2 separate regions of the Homo sapiens genome follow, and region 2 is linked to region 1. Evidence: promoter capture Hi-C in 16 types of primary human blood cells and fetal thymus (Javierre and others, 2016). All regions are on one chromosome and are shown on one strand. Each heading gives the region's core, a stretch centred on a gene start or on the middle of the fragment in contact. The rest is flanking DNA. Distances are from core to core; before and after follow the strand shown.

What was found. Contacts are between HindIII fragments. The CHiCAGO score rates a contact against its expected background, and 5 or more counts as called.
Region 2: a fragment that was not itself captured here is called in contact with the fragment with the promoter of NXN in region 1 in 1 of 17 cell types (M2 macrophages); the score reaches 5.7 in M2 macrophages.

Annotation. Positions count from the first base shown.
Region 1 is chr17:978,169-982,225 of GRCh38, reverse strand. NXN (nucleoredoxin) reads left to right here and starts at 2,450. Exons shown (of 8, transcript NM_022463.5): 1 at 2,450-2,907. The coding sequence starts at 2,548. RefSeq lists enhancers at 883-1,177, 2,602-3,537. The HindIII fragment of the contact is 5,276 bases long and covers 846-4,057 here.
Region 2 is chr17:556,315-560,538 of GRCh38, reverse strand. It overlaps VPS53 (VPS53 subunit of GARP complex), which reads left to right. Exons shown (of 22, transcript NM_001128159.3): 15 at 1-113. It overlaps LOC124903891 (a long non-coding RNA gene), which reads right to left. Exons shown (of 2, transcript XR_007065571.1): 2 at 4,199-4,224. Among named protein-coding and RNA genes, the nearest start is that of VPS53-AS1, 36 kb to the right of the region's middle. RefSeq lists an enhancer at 1-538. The HindIII fragment of the contact is 3,534 bases long and covers 436-3,969 here.

The sequences.
Region 1 (4,057 bases), core at 1,201-3,700:
GGGAGACTCCCTTTCCCGGTCTGCTAAGTAGCGGGTGTTTTTCCTTGACACTTACGCTACCGCTACACCACAGTCCGCCTGGCCACGGGTGTCTTCCCAGACGCTGGTGTTACCGCTAGACCAAGGAGCCCTCTGGTAGCCCTGTCTGGGCATAACAGAAGGCTCGCACTCTTGTCTTCTGGTCACTCCTCACTATGTCCCCTCAGCTCCTATCTCTGTATGGCCTGGTTTTCCCTAGATTATGATTATAGAGCGAGGATCATTATAATATGGGAATAAAGAGTAATTGCTACAAACTAATGATTAATGATATTCATATATAAGCCTATCTAAGATCTATATCTGGTATAACTATTCTTATTTTATATTTTATTACACTGGAACGGCTTGTGTCCTCGGTCTCTTGCCTCAGCGCCTGGGTGGCCTGCCGCCCACACTGTCTCAAAATAAATAAATAAATAAATAAATAAATAAATAAAGTTTTCACTAAAAAGTGATGCTTTCTGTGTGTGTTTTATAATATTGTCCCTACAGTGGCACAGACTTTCAGCATGAAAGTCTCCTGAGAATTAAGGTGGAATTCGACTTTGCAGTAGGATTCTAGGGTGTTCGAAGGCGGTCCTCCATCTAAGATCTTACCTGTGTCATTAGCAATACCAGCAGGTGACTAAGGAAGTGGATATAACTTGTAGAGACGCCAGTCCACTTTCCGCTCCCATCTCCACCTCTCCCAATTGTTTTATATGGTAACATTTCACCAAGCTGGAACCCTGCACCATTCCTTATTCTACCCTAGAAAAACGGAGAACCTTCGATGTGAACACTTACGTTTTGTGCCAAAAGCTTGAAGTTCTATTCTGAGGTTTAAATTAGCTCCCGCAAAGCGTCCTATCATTTGTGTATGTGGAAAGCTGCTGTAAAATAAAAGCATTGTGCCTGGTGTCCCGGCAGTGTCTTTTCACAAATGGAGTTTGGTCGGCCTCATTTTTCACTCTTTCCATTAGGTGGCGATGGATGCACAGGAAATATCCTCCGAAGCGGCGGTGGAAGCTCTGAGAGGGGCGGGTTTTCAGCTTTTATTTTTTTGCTTTCGCTGAGTCGTCAGTAGCTGATCCACACCGGCGGCCTGTTACTGTGGCTGGGCCCGGATCTGCACCTGCTTCGTGCACCAGTGGGTTGGGTTGGGGGGAGGCGCTGCGTGGCCAGAGTACTCGCCACGGACCACCTGTTTTTTTGTTTTTTTTGAGACGGAGTCTTGCTCTGTTGCCCAGGCTGGAGTGCAATGGAGCGATCTCGGCTCACTGCAGCCTCCGTCTCCCGGCTTCACGCCATTCTCCTACCTCAGCCTCCTGAGTTGCTCGGATTACAGGTGCCTGCCACTACACCCCGCTAATTTTTGTATTTTTAGTAGAGGCGGGGGGGGGGTGTCACCATATTGGCCAGGCTGGTCTCGAACTCCTGACCTTGTGATCCACCCACCTCGGCCTCCCAAAGTGCTGGGAATTCAGGCGTGAGCCACCGCGCCCGGCCCAGACCACCTGTTTAATCCAGCTTCTCCCTAAGCATTGGGGAGCATCCTGCCAGCTGGTAGGAAAAAAAAAATCTCTAGAAATGTTCTCAACTATCCATAGACTTGACATGAGGATGGAGCGGATTCAGGAGCGCGGCCAGCATTGGTCTGGAGGCCCCGCGGCGTCCTTTGCATCCATTTGTGGGGCTGGAAGACAGATTCGCTGGGGGGAGAGGCCCCGGCGACCCCTGGACGGAAATCCCACACTGAGACCTGGCACCCTAACCAGACCCCACCAGAAGCTGCGAGGGCGTCCTCGGCCCCCTTAGAACAGCTTGGAACACACAGAGGAGTCAGTGTCCAGCCAGGCCCGGCCTGATGCAGTGAGGACGGCGGGTCCTATAAGCATCTCAGGGTCAGTGGGGCCCGGAGCGGCCTAAGGGTCAGGCTTCGTGCAGGGAGAGGAGGAGGGAAAGGCCGGGGAGGAACAGGAAGAGGGTGAAGAGCTCCGCGGGGAGGGGGCGGGATCCCTGGAGGTCTGGAGGGAATTTAGAACTGGGGAGGAGAGAAAATGCGGGCCGGGCTGCAGCCCGGGAAAGCGCCGGCTCAGCGGGCCCTTCTCCTTTCTTCACTTCGGCCGTGGGCTTTCCAGGGAGAGTGCGGCGTTTCGGGTCCGGCTTCTCGCCCAAGCAGTCACCCCGCGCACCGCGGCCGGCAGCTGCGGACCCCGCCTGGGCGGAGAGCTCTGGCCACCGCCGGCCGCAAACGGGGCGTGGCGAGGGCGGAGGGGGCGTGGCGAGGGCGGGCGGAGGGGCGTGGCGAGGGCAGCCGAAGGGGCGTGGCGCGGGCCGCGGAGGGGGCGTGGCAGGGCGGGGGAAGGGGCGTGGCGCGGGCAGGCGGAGGGGGCGTGGCGTGGGCGGCCCTACTGGGCCGGGCTCTGCTCTCCCCAGCGCCTGCCGCCGACGCCGCCGCCTCCTCCCGCCGCGCGGACCGTGGAGCGGGGTCGCAGCCGCCTGCCCGCCCTGCGGTGGGCCAGGATGTCGGGCTTCCTGGAGGAGCTGCTCGGCGAGAAGCTGGTGACGGGCGGCGGCGAGGAGGTGGACGTGCACTCGCTGGGCGCCCGCGGCATCTCGCTGCTGGGTCTCTACTTCGGCTGCAGCCTCAGCGCCCCCTGCGCGCAGCTCAGCGCCAGCCTGGCCGCCTTCTACGGGCGCCTGCGGGGGGACGCGGCGGCCGGGCCGGGGCCGGGAGCGGGGGCCGGGGCGGCGGCGGAGCCCGAGCCGCGGCGGCGCCTGGAGATCGTCTTCGTGTCCTCGGACCAGGACCAGCGGCAGTGGCAGGACTTCGTGCGGGACATGCCGTGGCTGGCGCTGCCCTACAAGGAGAAGCACAGGAAGGTGAGCGGCGCGGGCCTCGCCGGCCCCTGCCCGCCCCCCACGCCCGTTACCCCTGCCCGCCCCCCACGCCCGTTACCCCTGCCCTCCGCCAACCCCGTTGTCCCCCTGCCCGCCCTCCACCCCCCGACCCCTGCCCCCAGTCCCCCGCCCCCCGACCCACTGTCCTCTCCCCGCCCCCCACCCCGCCGTCCCCGCCTCTGCCCCCCCCCCTTCCGCGCTGTGCCCGCACCCTCATCCCAGGACCCCTCTTTGGTTCGAGTGCTGCGCTGCGCCCGCCCTGGAAAGTTGGACCCCCCTCGGCCCCCGGGATCCCGGCTCGAGCCCCTCCGTCCGCACACGCTGGGAGCCTCGGGTGGGGGCGGCTGCGCTCGGGGATCCCGGTTCCGCGACCCCTTCACCCGCGAGCAGAGGCGCCAGGCCCTTCCTGCCTCCGCCGCCGACCCCCGCGGATTCCCACAGTGGGGAGGGGAGGGGAGGGGAGGGCGCACGCCCCCCGCCCGTGGCGCCCAAACCAGCGCGTTTCCTTTCTTTCCGGGAGAAACCTGCCTTCCCGGAGCCCCTTCCCCGGGGACCGGGGACCTGGGGGCCGAGGCCGAGGTCAGGAGAGGCGGCCGGTGACCGTGGCCGTGGCTGTGGCCGAGAAGGGCGCTCACGGCTCCGTCTCCCGCCCCCGCCTCCCCCGCCCCAGGCTGAGTTCGCGGCCACCGGGGAGCTTTGCATTGTCTGGCCGTCCAGCCTCCTCCCCAGACGCCTCCCGGGCGCGGGAACAGCCCGGGCTGTGCAGAGCTCAGCTGCGTGGTGGCCCCTGTGGTCCCGGGGTCTTCGAGTTAAGGGCTGAGCTGACCCCATCGATGCACATTGACTGGAAGAAGGAGGATTTGGGGAAATGGATACTTTGCTGTCAACTTCTCGTGTCTCCCAGTTTGCTGCCGAGTTGAGTTTGGGTTTCTGAGTGTGTCCCTTGGGTGAGGATGTCTGTCTCTGTGATAATAAAGCACATCCAGGACATTTTGTAATGAATGGAGTCAGAAAAAGTTTTGGAGCGCTGTTGCTTCGTGAGTGTATATGATGCAACGTGTGAATCCAGCCCCTTTCCCTTTTTGAGGAAAGCCTGTTTCTGGAGTGGACAGAAGGGCTATTCTGGGGGCGT
Region 2 (4,224 bases), core at 953-3,452, 420 kb after region 1:
GCCTCCTCAAGGAAAAGGAGGGCTCAGAAGTAGCCAAGTTCACTCTGGAGGAGCTCTGCCTCATCTGTAACATCCTGAGCACGGCAGAGTACTGTCTGGCCACCACCCAGCAGGTGAGCCATCCTGGCTGCCCACTCACCACCTCCTTTTCCTGAACCCTCTGGGCTGCGTCGCTCGGCGAGTAAGAATATACGTCCTAACATGGCCACAGACAACCTTGGGTCAGACCAGTTGGCCTGCCACAGAGGAAAGCTCAGTGTCCAGCCATAAGGCTGCCCAGGCAGCTGTCTTACAGAAAGGCCTTGTTAAAAGAAGACTGGGCAAGAAAGTATGACTGGTCACCTCCCTGGAGTTGTGTAAGCTCCTCAAAGGGCATGACCTGTTAAAAGTAGGTCAGTAGCACTCCAACCCATATGAGAAAAGCAGTAACAAGCTTGTCTGTGCTAGGACCCAGCCTTTGGTGATGATGAGTCACAGCCAGTTATTCCATGCTCAGAAGTGTTACTAAGTTAAGCAGAATCCTTTGGGCTTTTATGTGTCTTCTGAAATTTACATGGCATTTTCAATCTGCCTCAACAAATAGCCATTGTTTGGGATGCTGACGTTTAGGAACTGGGGGACAGGAAAGGGTGATGCCTCTGCTGGAGGCCCCCACATGGCCATAGTTCAGCAACTGATGGAGCAGAAGGAAGACCCAGAATAACCTTTGATTCAGCCTTAAACATGGAATTAGAAGTCCTTTTCACACTTGGTCTGGGATTCCCCTGAGGCCAAGAGAAAGAAAGTAATTTGGAAAGGTTCTGCTCTTCTACCCACTTTGTATTTATAATTTACAGATGCCTAGACCACAAGAAGACAGTCATAAATGATAGTTCAGACAGCCCAGCTTGGAGCTCCTGTGTGCCAGGGCAGCAATATAGCAGGTCAAATAGGAAGTGTGTCTACCAAGGCCCCTCAGTGGCACATAAGCCAGCCAGAGGCAGAGGCAGCAGCACACTCTGCCTGGGGACCTGGTCATGTTGAGTTGCGAAGGTCATGACCTTCCAGGGTTTGGCCTTGGAGCCACAGAGCAGTCCGTTTAGCCCCAGGCCACTCCCCAGGTAAGATGGCACTATCTGTAAGGACCTCCAAGGCAGGGGTTCCAGAGTTCTTTCATGAAGAAACACTGTTTAACTATTTTGGGTGTGCACAGAAAGAAATACGATACATGTAAATATGCTATTTTAAAGGTAAAATAACCGTAGTATTTAAAAAAATAAAGATCCCTTTTAATCCCATCATCCTCAAATAATCATATTAGCAATTTGGGGTATTTTTTCAATTGTTATTCATAGACATAGTTTTGAATGTTACAATCTTAATTCACTGTTATATCCTTTTATTGTTAGTGTCATACATAGCATTAGCATTTCTCCTGTCATTATAATGATAGTAATAATCATAACTATCATTACAGGGTCATTATTACTATCATTGTTTATGGCCACATAATATTTCTCTTTAAGGGACTATACCATAAATTATTTATTTATTTATTTATTTTGAGACAGAGTCTTGCTCTGTCTTCCAGGCTGGAGTGCAGTGGCCATGATCTTGGCTCATTGCAGCCTCCACCTCCCAGGTTCAAGCAATTCTTCTGCCTCAGCCTCCTGAGTAGCTGGGATTATAGATGCCCATCACCATCCCCGGCTAATTTTTGTATTTTTTTTTTTTTTTTAGTAGAGATGGGGTTTCACCATCTTGGCCAGGCTGATCTCCAACTCTTGACCTTGTGATCCACCTGCCTTGGCCTCCCAAAGTGCTGGGATTACAGGTGTGAGCCCCTGTGCCCGGCCTTGTACCATAACTTATTTAGCAAGCATCCCTGATCGTTGTTTATAGTGCTTCAAATTTTGCTTTTTTTTTGAAACAGAGTCTCTCTCTGTCACCCAGGCTGGAGTGCAGTGGCACGATCTCGGCTCACTGCAAGCTCCCCCTGCCGGGTTCTCGCCATTCTCCTGCCTCAGCCTCGCGAGTAGCTGGGACTACGGGTTCCCATCACCACGCCTGGCTAATTTTTTTTTATTTTTAGTAGAGGCCGGGTTTCACTGTGTTAGCCAGGATAGTCTCGATCTCCTGATCTTGTGATCTGCCCGTCTTGGCCTCCCAAAGTGCTGGGATTACAGACGTGAGCCACTGTGAGTAGCTGGGACTACAGGCACCCGCTACCACACACAGCTAATTTTTTGTATTTTTAGTAGAGACGGGGTTTCACTGTGTTAGCCAGGATGGTCTCAATCTCCTGACCTCGTGATCCACTCACCTTGGCCTTCCAAAGTGCTGGGATTATAGGCGTGAGCCACCATGCCCAGCCAAAATTTTGCTTTTATAGATAATCCTGGCAGGGTACAGTGGCTCACGCCTGTAATCCTAGCATATTGGGAAGCCAAGGTGGAAGGATCGCTTGAGGCCAATAGTCCAAGACCAGCCTGGGTAACATAGTGAGACCTGGTCTTTACAAAAAATTTAAAAGTTAGTTGAGTGTGGTGGTACATGCCTGTGGTCTCAGCTACTTGGGAAGCTGAGGTTGGAGGATCGCTTGAGCCTGGGAGGTCAAAGCTGCAGTGAGCTATGATCACACCACTGCACTCCAGCCTGGGTGACAGAGTGAGACCCTGTCTCTAAAAAAAAAAAAAAAAAAAAAGATAATCCTTACAAAGAATGTCTTTCTGAATATAGCATCTTAAATGTTTTGCATTAGTTTTCTAGAACAGACTCTTAGAAGTTCTAGAAATAAGTTGAAGACCATTTTGATGACTGATGATACAAGTGGCCAATTATTTTTTATTTAGTGAAAATTGTTTTTATTGATTACAAAAGTAATACATTCTTAGCACCTTTATTGTGATCTCTAAATACAATTTTCCACTAAAAGAAACCAGAGATTCCTGGAGAAATGACTAATTCCAGGTCAAGGGCAGGAAATCTACAAGATGAATCAGAACATCATGTTACACAAAAAGCAAGAAAAATATCAAAGACTATTAGTGTCATCTCAAGAGGACCCAGGGAGATATAGTGGGTTGAAGTGTCCCCCCAACCCCAAAATATGTCCAAGTCCTAGGCCTTGGGACATGTAAATGTGACTTTATCTTGGTAAATGTAATTAAGTATCTCAAGATGAGATGGTCCTGGATTTAGGATTGGTGGGGGGCCTTATCTAATGACTGTTGTCCTTAGAAAGGAGAGAGAGATTGAACACACAGAGATACAGGGAAGAAGGCCGTGAGAAGGAGGCAGAGGCTGGAGTCAGACTTCTATGAGCCAAGGAACATCAAGGATTGCCAGCAAACACCCAAAGCTAGAAGAGAGGTGTAAATAGTTTTTTCCTCAGAGCTTCCAGAAGAGTGGGGGCGCGGTGGCTCATGCCTATAATCCCAGCACTTTGGGAGGCTGAGGAGGGTGGATCACTTGAGGTCAGGAGTTTAAGACCAGTCTCGTCAACATGGCAAAACCCCGTCTCTACTAAAAGAATACAAAAATTAGCCGGGTGTGGTGGCTTCTCACTTGGCAGTCTCATTCCCCAAGCCTCAGGTCCCCGCTTCAGTATCACCTCCTCAGAGAGCCCCTCCTGGCCACCCCCCTTCAGCAGAGAGGCCCTCCTGGCCACCCCCCTTCAGTAGGTAGCTCCCTTATTCCAGCACTGCCAAATTTATTTCCTAACACCACAAAACCGAAGTTACGTCTCGGCTGGCTTACTTCCTTATTATCTGGCGCCCCCATTAGTTTTAAGTTACATGCCAGAAAGTCTACTTTGTTCACCTCTGTTCATTAGCACCAAATACAATGCCTGGTACGTAATAAGTGCTTAATAAAGATCTCTTGAAGGAATAAAAGAGCCCACTCCTGAGATAATGGCATTAACCCATGATGATGCCAGAGCCCTCATGACCTCATACCTCTCAACACTGTGGCTTCAGGGATTAAGCTTATAACCCATAAACTTTGGAGAACACAATCAAACCACAGAACGATGTTATGAATTGCTATTGTAAATAGTTTTTAAAAAACATAAACTACACTTTTAAGGATACTTTTACATTTACAGAAAAATTGCAAAGATCGTTTGTATGGTTCCCATATACCACTTACCCAGTTTCCCATATTATTAACATTGATATGAAATATTTGTTACAATTAATGAACCAATAATGATGTATTATTGGTGTTGCTTTTAAATTTTAT